5 separate regions of the Homo sapiens genome follow, and regions 1, 2, 4 and 5 are each linked to region 3. The links are contacts of gene promoters, found by promoter capture Hi-C in blood cells and fetal thymus (Javierre and others, 2016). All regions are on one chromosome and are shown on one strand. The core of a region is centred on a gene start or on the middle of the fragment in contact, and the rest is flanking DNA. Distances in the headings are between cores, read along the strand shown. Region 1 overlaps CARMIL3 (capping protein regulator and myosin 1 linker 3). Region 2 overlaps LOC101927045 (a long non-coding RNA gene). Region 3 holds the start of RABGGTA (Rab geranylgeranyltransferase subunit alpha). Region 4 overlaps CPNE6 (copine 6). Region 5 overlaps NYNRIN (NYN domain and retroviral integrase containing).

What was found. Contacts are between HindIII fragments. The CHiCAGO score rates a contact against its expected background, and 5 or more counts as called.
Region 1: a contact is called between a fragment that was not itself captured here and the fragment with the promoter of RABGGTA in region 3, in 1 of 17 cell types (activated CD4 T cells). The highest score is 5.3, in activated CD4 T cells.
Region 2: a fragment that was not itself captured here is called in contact with the fragment with the promoter of RABGGTA in region 3 in 2 of 17 cell types (neutrophils and naive CD8 T cells); the score reaches 5.6 in neutrophils.
Region 4: a contact is called between a fragment that was not itself captured here and the fragment with the promoter of RABGGTA in region 3, in 2 of 17 cell types (activated CD4 T cells and total B cells). The highest score is 5.9, in activated CD4 T cells.
Region 5: a contact is called between a fragment that was not itself captured here and the fragment with the promoter of RABGGTA in region 3, in 5 of 17 cell types (total CD8 T cells, total CD4 T cells, naive CD8 T cells and 2 more). The highest score is 7.9, in total CD8 T cells.

The regions. Positions count from the first base shown.
Region 1 is chr14:24,060,131-24,062,830 of GRCh38, reverse strand. CARMIL3 (capping protein regulator and myosin 1 linker 3) reads right to left here. Exons shown (of 40, transcript NM_138360.4): 24 at 2,576-2,674; 25 at 2,075-2,203; 26 at 1,791-1,904; 27 at 1,159-1,334; 28 at 264-351; 29 at 1-122. Among named protein-coding and RNA genes, the nearest start is that of CARMIL3, 9.5 kb to the right of the region's middle. The HindIII fragment of the contact is 4,487 bases long and covers 1-2,700 here.
Region 2 is chr14:24,446,406-24,449,117 of GRCh38, reverse strand. All of the region lies in intron 2 of LOC101927045 (a long non-coding RNA gene), which reads right to left. Among named protein-coding and RNA genes, the nearest start is that of SDR39U1, 5.0 kb to the right of the region's middle. The HindIII fragment of the contact is 4,219 bases long and covers 1-2,712 here.
Region 3 is chr14:24,270,347-24,273,046 of GRCh38, reverse strand. It overlaps RABGGTA (Rab geranylgeranyltransferase subunit alpha), which reads left to right and starts at 1,450. Exons shown (of 17, transcript NM_182836.3): 1 at 1,450-1,560; 2 at 1,878-1,934; 3 at 2,100-2,210; 4 at 2,589-2,700. The coding sequence starts at 1,932. It also overlaps a transcript of NOP9 not described here. RefSeq lists enhancers at 1,103-1,182, 1,923-2,132 and silencers at 1,273-1,372, 1,443-1,732. The HindIII fragment of the contact is 2,930 bases long and covers 786-2,700 here.
Region 4 is chr14:24,077,614-24,080,313 of GRCh38, reverse strand. It overlaps CPNE6 (copine 6), which reads right to left. Exons shown (of 17, transcript NM_006032.4): 16 at 2,547-2,700; 17 at 2,227-2,426. The coding sequence ends at 2,584. NRL (neural retina leucine zipper) reads left to right here. Exons shown (of 3, transcript NM_001354768.3): 3 at 1-1,652. Among named protein-coding and RNA genes, the nearest start is that of CPNE6, 7.4 kb to the right of the region's middle. The HindIII fragment of the contact is 1,349 bases long and covers 608-1,956 here.
Region 5 is chr14:24,400,943-24,403,642 of GRCh38, reverse strand. All of the region lies in intron 2 of NYNRIN (NYN domain and retroviral integrase containing), which reads right to left. Among named protein-coding and RNA genes, the nearest start is that of NYNRIN, 3.3 kb to the right of the region's middle. The HindIII fragment of the contact is 4,166 bases long and covers 1-2,700 here.

The DNA.
Region 1 (2,700 bases), core at 32-2,531, 210 kb after region 3:
TCATCATCTGTGGTCTCCTCATGGTCATGGTTCCGGCCTCGGCCCCGGGAGGACAGATCCTGCCCTTGGCCTGGGCACCCTGGTGGATCTGACAGCGTCCTTAGCTGGGTCAGGTGCCGGGCCTGGGGAAGGGCAGGTGTGAACAGAATTCCATGGAAGCTGCCCACCTCCCAGGGCCTTGAAGGGGAGGGTGATTAGGGAGACAGGATAATGTGGGGTGGAGGGCGTGCCCGAGCCAGGCCAGGCTGCAGAAGAAGCCTTACCAGGCTCTTGTGGGAATGGTAGAGCTCTTGCAGGATCTCATCCACTATGGAGCTGGTTAGGTAGGTGACGACTGAGAGCTTCACTTCACTGTGGGCACAGGTGGGGCTACTCAGAACATTAGCACCTCAGTCCCCCGCATGGCCCCTGAGGCACTCCCTCTCCCAGAAGCCTGAGAGAACGGCCAGCTGGCCTGGTCTGTCTGCCCATGGAGCGCATGTGGCTGCTGAAGGAGGCAGCCTAGCCCTTGACACTCATTTCTCCACAAATACACGTCTAGTCCCACCCCAGAGCCCCCAGCCCAACTATGTGTGGGGAAAGAGGAATTCGAGGAGAAGGAGCAAGGGGGCCCTAGGTCAGGCCCCTGGAGCCCCAGTGGAACAGAGCTAGGTAATTGGGGTGCTGAGTAACTAAACCCTGCTAGTTGCTACTGTGAGGGTAGGAAAGACCCTTCCTTGGGCCTAGCTGTTTCATAGGTATGTGTACTAGTTTTCCTTTGGTTTGGTGAGTGGTGGCACCCAGACCCAGAATGAAAGAACTCTAGGGGCAATGAAAACTGGGAGGAAGACAGTGCTTCCATGCACCCAACTCAGGTACTTTTCTTTGTCCATGCCTCCGAGGAGGCCCTGCTATCCCATTCCTGGTGTATTTGTGTGGGTATGTGTGTGTACACCTGTGTGGGCACAAACTTGGCTCCTAAACCCCAGCTCAGCACTTAGATTTCTAGGGCAAAGACCAGCCAGACCCTAAATAGCAAGGTTGCACTTGGTTAAAGATTGATCCTTGTAATGGAGATTGTGCCATTCATTATTCATTGCTGATAGCTCTCCAGTCCTAAGTCCCTAAGTGATCTGGGCCAAATCCAGCTCAGCCCCAGCCCTGCCCTTTGCCTCTCACTCCAGCTTGTTCTGAATGTCCTGTCCTGCTTGCTCCAGCAGTGCCCCTCGGATGAAGTTCCGGGGCACAGTGACACGCTCCGCCACATTGCTCAGCATCTTGTTGTGTCCCTCGGCCACCCGCATGGCCACAGGGCATAACTCCTGTGTCAGGCTGACCATGGACTCCAGGATCACCTAGTATGGGGGAAAGGGAGGCCAGAGGCCCAAGGGGGACAGGATCAGGGCTGGCACCACAGCAGAAGAGACTTTATCTATTCCAGCCCCTCCTGCTGAGACTGAGGGACCTGCCTAAGTCACAAAACTGTTAGTGGCAGAGCCTTGGACACTAAGGCTTCCCCACTTTCTGGTCAGTGCTCCTTCCACCCTACCATACAGACAGGGGCAGTCAGTCCAAGGATCCAAATCCAGAGCAGGGAGGTCAGAGTTCAGGGACCAACATCAAAGCTAGCAGAAAAAAATCCAAGCCTGATATTGCAGCAATGCCTTGGTACAGTGGGAGCGTGGGTGGTCTCAACTCTGCATGTCCTCCTGGCCCTCCAGAAGTCTCCCAGCTCTGACTTTAGCTCTGGGCTTAGGGCCTCAGTCAACACTAGGTTCCCACCATGGATTCCTCCCTCCTCCAGGACTTGCCTGCAGCTCCTTGTCCACAGCTTTGGACACCTCACTTGCTACTGATTCCAGCCTCTGCCGCACAGGCCCATCATTGGCCAGCACGTGGCCCAGCTCATAGAGGCTGGGAAACAGCTGGAGAAGGAAGGGGTTATGATTAGCAGGCCAGAACCAGGACTTGCTAGGTCTCTGGGGTCCCTGGGCTAGGAAGGCAGATGCACAGGGCAGGGCTGTCATGGCTTAGCATGGTCGGCCTTCTTGGGTTCTCCAGACTTCAGGGGAAGGGTAGCCTGTGGAGGGCTCACCGCCCGGGAGTTCTTGGCATCTTTGATGAGGTCCCGAGCGTAGAGTAGCTCATCCTGCACAGGCTCCAGGGGGCATAGTCTCAGGGCCCGCACCTCCTCCTGCACTCGTCCACACAGCCGCTGCAGCATCTGGAGCACAGTGGCAGGGGTGTCAAGGGGACCCCTGCTTCCACATCTTCGCAGGTAGGACCCCTTAGACAGTGCTACTGGTGCTGGCACCGACAGTGGTGGAGGTGATGTCTCTGGCTGGCCTGGTCCCCATTGCTACAGCCTTCTTGAATGCCCAGCTGAGCTCCCAGAGTCCTGTGCACTCCTGCTGTTCGCCCACATATGTTTGAAGCCCATATCCTGCATGTCCTCTCTTTTTGCTTCCCCACATGCTCAGTCCAGTGATAGGCACCATGCAGTGCCTCTTCATGCTCCCCCACTCAATTTTCCATCACATCACACTGTGCCCTGCATGCCCCGGGTATGCCCCGTGTCCCAGAGGGAAACGTTTACTTGCTCGGCGCTGCTGGTCACCAGGCCCTGCTGCAACCTGAAGGCCTGCTCCTGGGGGCACGTCTGGGAGTGGTTGTTCCTCACTAAGCACCATTGGATCTGGAGATGATGGGGTTGGTGGGTCA
Region 2 (2,712 bases), core at 45-2,544, 180 kb before region 3:
CGAGCTGCCAATGACTTTCTTCACAGAATTGGAAAAAACTACTTTAAGGCTCATATGGAACCAAAAAAGAGGCCGCATTGCCAAGACAATCCTAAGCCAAAAGAACAAAGCTGGAGGCATCATGCTACCTGACTTCAAACTATACTACAAGGCTACAGTAACCAAAACAGCAGCGTACTGGTACCAAAACAGAGAGATAGACCAATGGAACAGAACAGAGCCCTCAGAAATAATACCACACATCTACCACCATCTGATCTTTGACAAACCTCACAAAAACAAGAAACAGGGAAAGGATTCCCTATTTAATAAATGGTGCTGGGAAAACTGGCTAGCCATATGTAGAAAGCTGAAACTGGATCCCTTCCTTACACCTTATATAAAAATTAATTCAAGATGGATTAAAGACTTAAATGTTAGACCTAAAACCATAAAAACCCTAGAAGAAAACCTAGGCAATACCATTCAGGACATAGGCATGGGCAAGGACTTCATGTCTAAAACACCAAAAGCAATGGCAAAAAAAGCCAAAATAGACAAATGGGATCTAATTAAACTAAACAGCTTCTGCACAGCAAAAGAAACTACTATGAGAGGGAACAGGCAACCTACAGAATGGGAGAAAATTTTTTGCAATCCACCCATCTGACAAAGGGCTGATATCCAGAATCTACAATGAACTCAAACAAATTCACAAGAAAAAATCAAACAACCCCATCAAAAAGTGGGTGAAGGATATGAACAGACACTTCTCAAAAGAAGACATTTATGCAGCCAACAGACACATGAAAAAATGCTCATTATCACTGGCCATCAGAGAAATGCAAATCAAAACCACAATGAGATACCATCTCACACCGGTTAGAATGGCAATCATTAAAAAGTCAGGAAACAACAGGTGCTGGAGAGGATGTGGAGAAATAGGAACACTTTTACACTGTTGGTGGGAGTGGAAACTAGTGTGGAAGGGAGTGTGGTGATTCCTCAAGGATCTAGAACTAGAAATACCATTTGACCCAGCAATCCCATTACTGGGTATATACCCAAAGGATTATAAATCATGCTACTATAAAGACACGTGCACATGTATGTTTACTGTGGCACTATTCACAATAGCAGAAACTTGGAACCAACCCAAATGTCAATCAATGATAGACTGGATTAAGAAAATGTGGCACATATACACCATGGAATACTATGCATCCATTAAAAAGGATGATCCATTGTAGGGACATGGATGAAGCTGGAAACCATCATTCTGAGCAAATTCTCGCAAGGACAAAAAACCAAACACTGCATGTTCTCACTCATAGGTGGGAACTGAACAATAAGAATGCTTGGACACAGGGTGGGGAACATCACACACCGGGGCCTATTGTGGGGTGGGTGTGGGGGGAGGGATAGCATTAGGAGGAATACCTAATGTAAATGATGAGTTAATGGATGCAGCACACCAACATGGCACATGTATACATATGTAACAAACCTGCACATTGTGCACATGTACCCTAGAACTTAAAGTACAATAAAAAATTTTTTGAATTAAAAAAATTTTAATTTTTCAAAGTTCAGGTTGGTTCTTTTATCAATTCTGCTGGTATTTTTTGATAGCATCTTGTCTCTTTCTCATGTTTTTAATTTCTTCTCTTTCTTAAACGTTTTAAACTTTGGTAATTTTATATTCTATACCTCTAAATTCTAACACTTTAAATCTTTGTCTAAATCTGCTGTTTTCTGTTTCGGTTTGGTTTGATTTTATTTGACACCCTCAGAGTGCTTTGTTTCCTTGTGTGTTTTGTAATTTTGTATTGTATGTTTATGCTTGGCAGGATTTTATCTATTGAAATCCTGTGAAACCAAACCAAGGGAAGATTTATGTCTTCTATCTGGAACACTTAATTTAAATTCTTGGGTTAGAGCTTTCTAGGCCAAGTAGGTAACAATTAATTCAAACCACAAATATGCAGGCGGACAGGACAATAGATACAACTTCTCAAAGAACGGTAATTTTTTTGACAACCAATCCTAGACAAGAGCAAAGCCTAGAGAAACAAGTTTCCAGGCCATGTTCTTTGATACCAGGTGGACTTTTAAAGTTTACTTTTTATCTGAGAACACAGCCCAAGGGCTTTATCCAGGGGTCTCAGTCCCAAATTTGCTTCGATCTCAGGCATGGTCTCCTGTCACCCAAGCCTCTGGGTTACTGAAACTAAAAGTCACAAAATACCTGTTAAAGAAAATTATTCAGTGACACTTGATAGAGTAAGGTAAGGAAGACTTTCCATCACAATAGGTACAGGTACCACTACAATGTGGTCTTGCAGTGGGAGAGATTGGGGTCAAGTATGAAACAACATGGGCAAGTGGGAATTTATAGCCAACGAATACGGTGGGGGTCAGTGGATGAAAAATTAGTAAGAGAAAAATATCAAGGGTAAGAGGGATTCTGGCTAACCCAAACTAACGGGATTCATGTGAAGATAGGCCAAGGTGATCAGACATCACCTAGGGGATGAAGGATGAGGGGCCTGATCAGAGATTGAGAGTGATCAGATATCAAGGGTTGAGGGGGTTCTTGCTAAACTGACTTAGCAAGGCTCTTTGCGAAAACTGGATTTTACAAAGAGGTGTACAAATGAGCCTAGAAGGTTCAGAAGCCTGACTAAAGTTTGGCCAAGCAAATAATCTTTGTCATAACCTCAGTCCCAAGAC
Region 3 (2,700 bases), core at 201-2,700:
TAAAGGCTCCACCAGAAAACCTTCTTTGCAGTAGGCACAGGGAAAAAAATCACAGTCTTTAAAAGTACATATGAAGGTCTATCAAATCAGACTGGGGCATTTTAGAGAACTTCCTCGAGGTGCCACTTGAGTTACATTTTTTTTTCTTTGTACTGTGGAGTTCAAAAAGTTAAATCTTAAAGATAAACAGGAATTACTGTGGCAAAGGAGGAGTGTGGAGAAAGGAGAGTCAAGAGGGAACAGGCTAACATATTTAGGAAACTGCAAGTATTTCTGTAGGCTGTCATGAAGAGTTTTTGGCAGGGTCAGGCAGGATATACAGCCAGAGAGTAGGCAGAGCCCAAATGCCAATAGGTCTGATGTGCTGAGCTGAGAGATTACAATTCTATCCTGAAAAGGAGCCACTCAGCACTTTTAGGCACAGATATGACGTCAAATCTGCATTTTAGAAAAATGGATTCAGTAGCACAGAGGATGGACTGATAACAAGGGATGAGGTGGAGAACACTGAAAAGACTTTCAACAATCTGGAGAAGAAATTCGGAGTTTGAACTCCTAGTGGCAGTGGGAAGAGAAAGAGTATTTAAGCGAGTTTAAGAAGTGAGGAGGAAATAGTGCCATTCACTACAATAGAAAACATAAAGGCCAATGTTTAGACAGGATGGATGAAAGATAATTTATACCTTTTGGCTTTTGGAGTTTGAGGTGTCTCTGGGACACCAGGTGATATCCAACAGGTGTTTGAATATGTATGTGCATGTATATTATTTATTGTTATTTAAGCTTGCAAGACATCTGGGCTGGAGATATAAATTTGGGTGTCATCAATTTACAGGTAGTAATTAAAACAATGAGTGTGGATGAACTCACCCAGAGAAAGTGTAATGCCAGATTTGTGGGCCAAAACAGCTCTGAGGAGCTCCAACTCGAAGCAGTTGAAGGCTTACATTTAAACATTCTCCCAGGAACAGTGGGTGAAGTGAAAAAGGGGTGAGGAAAGGGCCCTGGAGATCACCAACATTTAGGGGTGGAGGTGAACAGATGAGAAGAGAGAGGCAGAGGTGCAGGAGGAGAAGCCAGAATGGGGGTGTCAAGTATAAAGAAATGGGTAGCGTCAAATGCTTCAGAGGTTAGAGAAAATGACAGGAAACTCCCCCTGTTAGATTTGACATCTAGAAGGCTGTCGGTGTGGCCAGGGTGAGGTCAGTGGAGTAGTGAAGGTGCGGGTTTCCGGCTGTTGGAGAAACCTCTTCCACTAACTACATTGCACTCTGAGTTACCAACTGGCATGGTCCTCCCCCCATTTCACACGCACGCTACAGTCGCCCGTGCGCACTCGTACACACCAGGTGGCTAACAGGTACGAGGCGTTTCCGGACAGCGAGCGCAGAGCCCCCGCGCACGCGCCTCCGAGCCGGCCTCTTCCGCCGCAAGTCCCTCCCCAAGCCTGCAGAGTGCGCTGCGTTTCGATGAGCCGGGACGTGGCGCCGCTCTAGCCAGCGCCTGGGCTCTGTGGCGGGCGCCGCAGCTCCGCGTCCCCCGCGCCTCCTCCCAGCGCAGGTGGGTCCGCCCGCGGGGGGCGGGGGTGCCCGGGAGCCGTGGGACGGGCGGGTAGCGGCAACCTTTGGGGAGCAGAGTGGTCCCCAACGCCCAGGTGCCCCGGCTCGCGCTCTGGCCCGGGCGAATCGGGCTATAGGAAGGGCCACACGGATGGAAGTCCTAGTCCGGGTGCTCACCTCTTGTGGAACGTGCAAAGCCTGTCCCAGGACCTCTTTACACTCTGGGGGTCTCTGCCCAGGCACGCTTGCTGCTTCCGGACACAGCTGTGGGCGGAGCTAGTAGGGGCGGGGCTACGTGATTGACACTTCTCTCCTCAGACTTCAAGGGCTACCACTGGACCCTTCCCCTGTCTTGAACCCTGAGCCGGCACCATGGTGAGAACCCTGAGCCCAGCCCTTCACCTCCGCAGGCCCGCGCCCTCACCCCCAGTGGCAGTGCCATGGTTGCCCCGTATGAACCTAGGGCTCCACAGTGTGGGGTTTTTGCAGGTCAGCTTCTGCAAGGCAACCTGCACTCTTCCAACCCGTTCATCCTTGTAGCACGGACGCCTGAAGGTGAAGACGTCAGAAGAGCAGGCGGAGGCCAAAAGGCTAGAGCGAGAGCAGAAGCTGAAGCTATACCAGTCAGCCACCCAGGCCGTATTCCAGAAGGTGGGGCCCTCAGAGGTAGCCCCGACCCCAAGTAGCTCCCTTAGTATAGTGCAGAGGCCAAGAGCTGGTCCCTAGAGTCAGACTGCCTAGATCCAATTCTGGGTTATCTCACTTATAACTGTATGACTTTGGGCAAGTTGCTGAATCTCTTTGGGCCTCAGTTTGCTCATCTGTAAAATGGGGCTAATAATTGCACCTACTGCATAAGGCTGTTGTGAAGATTAAATGAGAGAATACCTGTAAGGCCATAAAGCATGGTTCATAGTACCTGTTGTATAATGTGGGATTCACAGAATATTGGATGGTTTTAAGTTTACGTTATTTAGTCCTGTAGTGGGAAAATTATATGATCTCTAACCCTGCCACCTATCTTCTTAGCGCCAGGCTGGTGAGCTGGATGAGTCCGTGCTGGAACTGACAAGCCAGATTCTGGGAGCCAACCCTGATTTTGCCACCCTCTGGAACTGCCGACGAGAGGTGCTCCAGCAGC
Region 4 (2,700 bases), core at 33-2,532, 190 kb after region 3:
GGCAGCTCCCTCCAGGCTGTCTGGGCCTCCAGACCTGCACAGGGTGCTCCTGCCACCTCCCACCTCTCTGAGGGCTGAGGTGAGACTTCTCCTGGGATGACAATTTGCTGAGAGAGTGCAGCTTTTGTGAATTAAACTTGAAGTCCAGGCAGAATTCTAATGCAATAAGCTAAATGTTCTTGCAATTTAAGAAGTGTTCATTCTTTATCCCTGCTTCAGGCTACTGTTTGTGTGTCTGTGTGTGGGAGAGGGAGAGAGAGGGAGAGAGAGAGAGAGCAAGAAAAAGGGAAGTCCCCACCTGGAGCTGGGTGGCACATCTGTTATGGAGAGCCAATGGAAATGGGGTGGAGGGGCAGGCATTGGAACAGATGGATCCTCCCCCTCTCACCACCACCACCACCAAACTCAGAAGCCTCAGTGGCCCAGCTCGGCCTGTCAGTGGCTATCCAGGTCTCACAGTTTCCATGGTAACCCAGTCCTCCAGTTCAGCAGGCTAAGGGGAGGGCAGATGGGGCCTCTGGGCAGAGCACAGGCGTTGTGCTGGGAGCAGCCGCCTCACGAGTTACTGTCATCTGTCCTCTACCGGACATAATAAATGGGAGAAGCTTTCGGGCATGGGGGAAGAGGCTCCCATATGTCCCTCTTCCTTTCTACCCCCTCTCTCCACCCCCTCCCCAGCTGTCTCTTCTCTTCCCATCACAGTTCTTGCTCCCTCTTTCCCCTCCTCTATCCCAGCTCATCCCTCCTCCGCTTAGGAGCCTGCAATGGGAGTCCTCTCCTCCATCGCTCTCAGAATTTCTCTCGTCTCCTCTCCCTTCCCCACCATTGGCCACTGGCCATCCTCTCTGGCTCTGGATTCTCTCTCTGAGGGGCTCACAGAACCTTTAGCTTCTCTTTCTTCATCCCCTTCCACACTCATTGTTGAAGGGAGAGGATGGGGCAGGGAGGGTCCTTCCGGGAGCCCAGCTCTTTTTCTCTCACTCTAAATTTCACCTGTGTCTATCCTTGCCTGCCCTGGAGCTGTAATTCAGACCCACTACTTTTCTTGTTCACTTTTCTCACCTGCATGGCACACAAAGACAGACAGAACCATCCATAGACACCTGAGCACACAACTAGGCCACATATACAGTACCATACCTGGGTCTCAAAATGATACTCCTGGGTTACCTGAGTATACTTAAAAAAACAAAGTTGCACACTGTGGTGATTAAGAGTAGTGCTTTAGGTGGGGCGCAGTGGTTCCTGCCTGTAATCCCAACACTTTGGGAGGCCAAGGAGGAAGTTTGAGACCAGCCTGGGCAACATAGCGAGAACCCTGTCACTACAAAAAAATAAAATAAAATAAATTCAGATGTAATGGCATGCACCTGGAGTCCCACCTACCCAGGAGGCTAAGGTGGAAGGATAACTTGAGCCCAGGAGTTCGGGGATGCAGTGAGCCATAATCGTGCCACTGCATTCCAGCCTGGGTGGCAGAGTGAGACCCTGTTTCAAGTTGCAGTTCTACCAGTTTTTTGACCATGGGTGGGTTAAAATCAAGCCTCACTTGATTGTCAGAAAAATGGTGAAAATAATGGTAACCACCTACTGAGAATAAATGCATTTAAATAAGCACTTAGCATAAAGTTGACACATGCTACGTAATGATATTTGCTGTTGTTGCTGATGTGATTGTTAAGTGTGTGAATCTGTGTGTTCATGCACTGCACATCCCTGAGTCCATGAGTGTGACCCATTAAGGCCATGAACAGACACACACATTGACACACCCGGGAAACCAGACTGTATAGGCCTTAGATGCTCCACTATGTTCCCAATTCACTAGCAGACCTGCTGCCCTCCTTCAGTATCCCCCAGCACCTGCTCTTGGCCCGCCCCACAGCTGTGTGGGGGCTGGGGTTCAGCTCCTGGGGGACTCAGCAGGGCCTCTCTGGAGACAGCTATAAGAAAGCTTCAGCCTGCCCTCCTGACAGCCCGTAATTATCCTCCTATCTCCTGTAATTATTCTCCATGGTGCCTAGACCCCCTGGGGTTGGGAGGTGAGGGAGGGGGCTCCTCAGATCCCACTGGCACATAGCTGGGGTAAGACTGCAGAGACAGCAGCCTGCCTGGGGAGCTCTGTCTCAGATTTTGAAAGGTGCTGGTCCTCATTTCTTATGGTGTGTGTGGGGGTGCTGCAGGCTGCCCAGTGGGCATCTGAGGCATGATGGTTAGAGGCTGAGGTGCTAGGAGCAGTTCTCTTTATTAATGGCTAGAAAGTCAGGATCACCCAAGGAAGTCACTGAGGGGCCACAGCATTGAAGGGTATGGGGTTTGGAGAGATAGGAGCAGGACCCACCACTCACGTCCAGAACCCAGGGGGCACACCTGGTCCAAGAGGTGGAGGCATTGGTCACTGGAGTCACGAGGGTCAGGACAGGCACCTGGGAGGGGGTGGGAGAGTCATAAGCACTCTCTTCTACACTACACCCAGCCTAGTTGGGCTCTACCAAGCCCCACTTTGCACCCCCTGTGTCCACTCCTTTGGAAGCCCCAGGACTCACTGAGAGGCTGAGGGAGTGTCGGTCCGGAGGGAGGCAGTCACGGGCTAGGGCTGGGAGTCGTAGCCAGTGTGCAGGGCCTGGGAGCCCCAGGGCTGATGCCCTGGCTGGCGTAGTACTCCACCACCTGCCGTGGCACCTCAGCCAGGACACACTT
Region 5 (2,700 bases), core at 19-2,518, 130 kb before region 3:
TTAGGGTGACAATGGTCATTACACAGGACAGCTAGTTCAGATTGGAGGGTATGACTCAAGAGACAGGCATGTTGAAAGCAGGCATCTGCATACACTTTGCTGCTGCACCATCTTTTTAACTTGAGGCTACAGAGGGATGTGTTCCATCAACCCAAGAAAGAAAAAGTTTCAAGGTCCAGGACATGAGTATCTAGCAAAGAAAAAAGGCAAAGGATGCCAAGAACGACAGCTGTGTCAGCCTGGAAAGCAACTGACCAGACAGGAGAGACGGCGCCAAGAAAAAATTTAGAACCAAAAGAACACCTTGAACTGATAGACTGACCTTGTAGAAAACTGTACTGAGAGGCTACTGGAAGTGGTAAGAATTAACAATAGGTACAAAGAAAGGCAAATTGAAAAACAAGGAGTGCTTAACCTCAATGACCTCAGTAAAACCCAAAAAGTAAGAAAGAAAACAAAATCATAGTACACTTCAGTGCTTCGATGTGAACGCTATGTGCAAGGCATAATGAGGCAATGCTAAACGTAGATTTAGCAGGTAATTGAAACAGAACTATCTTGAGAAGAGGGGCTGGCCGTGAAAGGGAGCTCAATCCTCACATACGATAATGGGACCAAAAAAAGATAGCAGCAAACGTCAATTAATTAAAAGACAATAGTGTCTACATATTCTTTTAGAAATGTGGAGATGCGTAAATGCCAGAGCAAATACTGTCAGTGGGGATGGTTACTGAAGGAGGAATTGGGAGGGCCGGGGCAGGGAACCTCTGTGTGCTCTTCTAAGCCTTTTGGTAAAATTGGACTTTTCAAATGTGTATTACTTTGATAAAAGAAAATTTAAGTTTAAAGAAAAAGAAGTATTCAGTGCCCACAACACAAGCAGGTGTCCTGGTAAATGTTTAACAATCAGCTGGGGGTGGGGGGTAACCTTGATTTGTCGCATTTGCCAATTTCTGTGGCATAAATACTCCCACCATGGCTGTAAATACTCCTCCACTCACTTGCACAATTCCCGAAATTTTAACAGTGGGTCCATAGGAGCCAACTCCAGGCACTGACCGCAACCAACTCTCAGGGTACTGCTCACAGTTAGTGTGCAGCAAAGATAGTTCAACTTCCATCTGACAGCCAAGCCAGATGTCAGCAGGCCACACCCTGTCCCAGAGCTCCAGAACCCAGTCTCCAGAAGGTACTCTTGCCCACCACCACTGCCTTTAGGCTCCCCATCACCTCCCGCAGTGGTCACCTCTCTTCTCTGCCGCCCACCCCATCCTCACCTCACTGCCAAAGGGGAGAAGGGTGGAGCAGGGCTTGTCCCGGGCCTCTTCTGATCATTACTAAAACCCGCCTCTCCACTCACTGATTTCACCTCAGAGAGGCCTCCCCAGTGTTTGTTTTGCTGCCTGGGTATGTGTTTCACAGTAATGTCTTCAGTGTTCTTTAATCCCACCACAACAAAACAATTTTAAAGCACTCAAGATTTACAGAGATTTTCCTGAGAAACCAACCACATAGAAACACACTCAGGCCCTTCTCTAGATGAGCCTGTATCCTTCTCGACCCCTCCTCCCCTCAGACCCCAACAAGCCACCCTCACCATCAGCCCTCCCCCAGTCCTGCAACCTGTAGTCTCCCAGAGTCCTCTCTGCCTGTTGGCCTATGTTCAGTATGCCACTAACAAAGTGCATGATTCTGTGTCCCTACAGCTGAGATTGGGGCCAGCCACGCTGCCTCCCTATGAGAACCACAAGACATCCTTACACTTGGGAAATGTTCATGTGTCAGATCGCTGGACCTCAGACAGCATTTAATCCAAGACTTCCACTTTACAAACAGGGAGATCGAGACTCAGAGAGGGAAAAGGACTTGCTCAAAGTTACGCAGCTAGTCAAAAACAATAGTAGCTAACATCTATACTCTATAGCTCTCCACATTTTATAACAGTATTGTAACATGCATGATTTCAGCAGACTCTCACAAACTCTTCATGAACCAGGTATTATTATAGTCTGTTCCATAGATGAGGGAAATGGCTCAAGAGAGGATAAATTATTTGATCTGATCACCCAGTTCAGATAGTTAACAGGTAGCAAACCCCAGTCTCAAACTCTCCTCACCATACCCCTCCTATCTTGGTTGTAACTTGGTGACAGCATATCAAACCCAGATCCCCTAACCCCTGAGACAAAACTTTAACCCCCCCCGCCCCTCACCTTCCCTGTCCTCCTTCTCCAAATTGCCAACAAAGTCTCCTTTATGGTCATTGTGTAAAATAAGGCAGGGAGCTACCCAGAATCCCCTCACGCTGGGTTCCCACTTTTCAACAATGCCTTTCCCAAAGGGAAGACAAAGGGGGAGTGGAGGAACAGGGCTAGGAATCAAGGGAGCCACTGATTCCATTAGCTGGGCCTACAGTGGGAGCCTGAGGTGTGAGATCTGCGGTCCGAAGAACCCTGAAGCAGCAGAGGGAGACGGAGCAGGTAGGCCTGGAGAAGCCAATCCAGGATTTGAGCAAGGAGGGGGTGGCGGGGGTACCTCCGAAAGTGTGAGTCCTGGCCCGGCACAGTGGTTCATGCCTGTAATCCCAGCACTTTGGGAGGCCAAGGCGGGTGGATCACCTGAGGCCAGGAGTTCAAGACCAACCTGGCCAACATGGTGAAACCTCATCTCTACTAAAATACAAAAATTAGCTGGGCATGG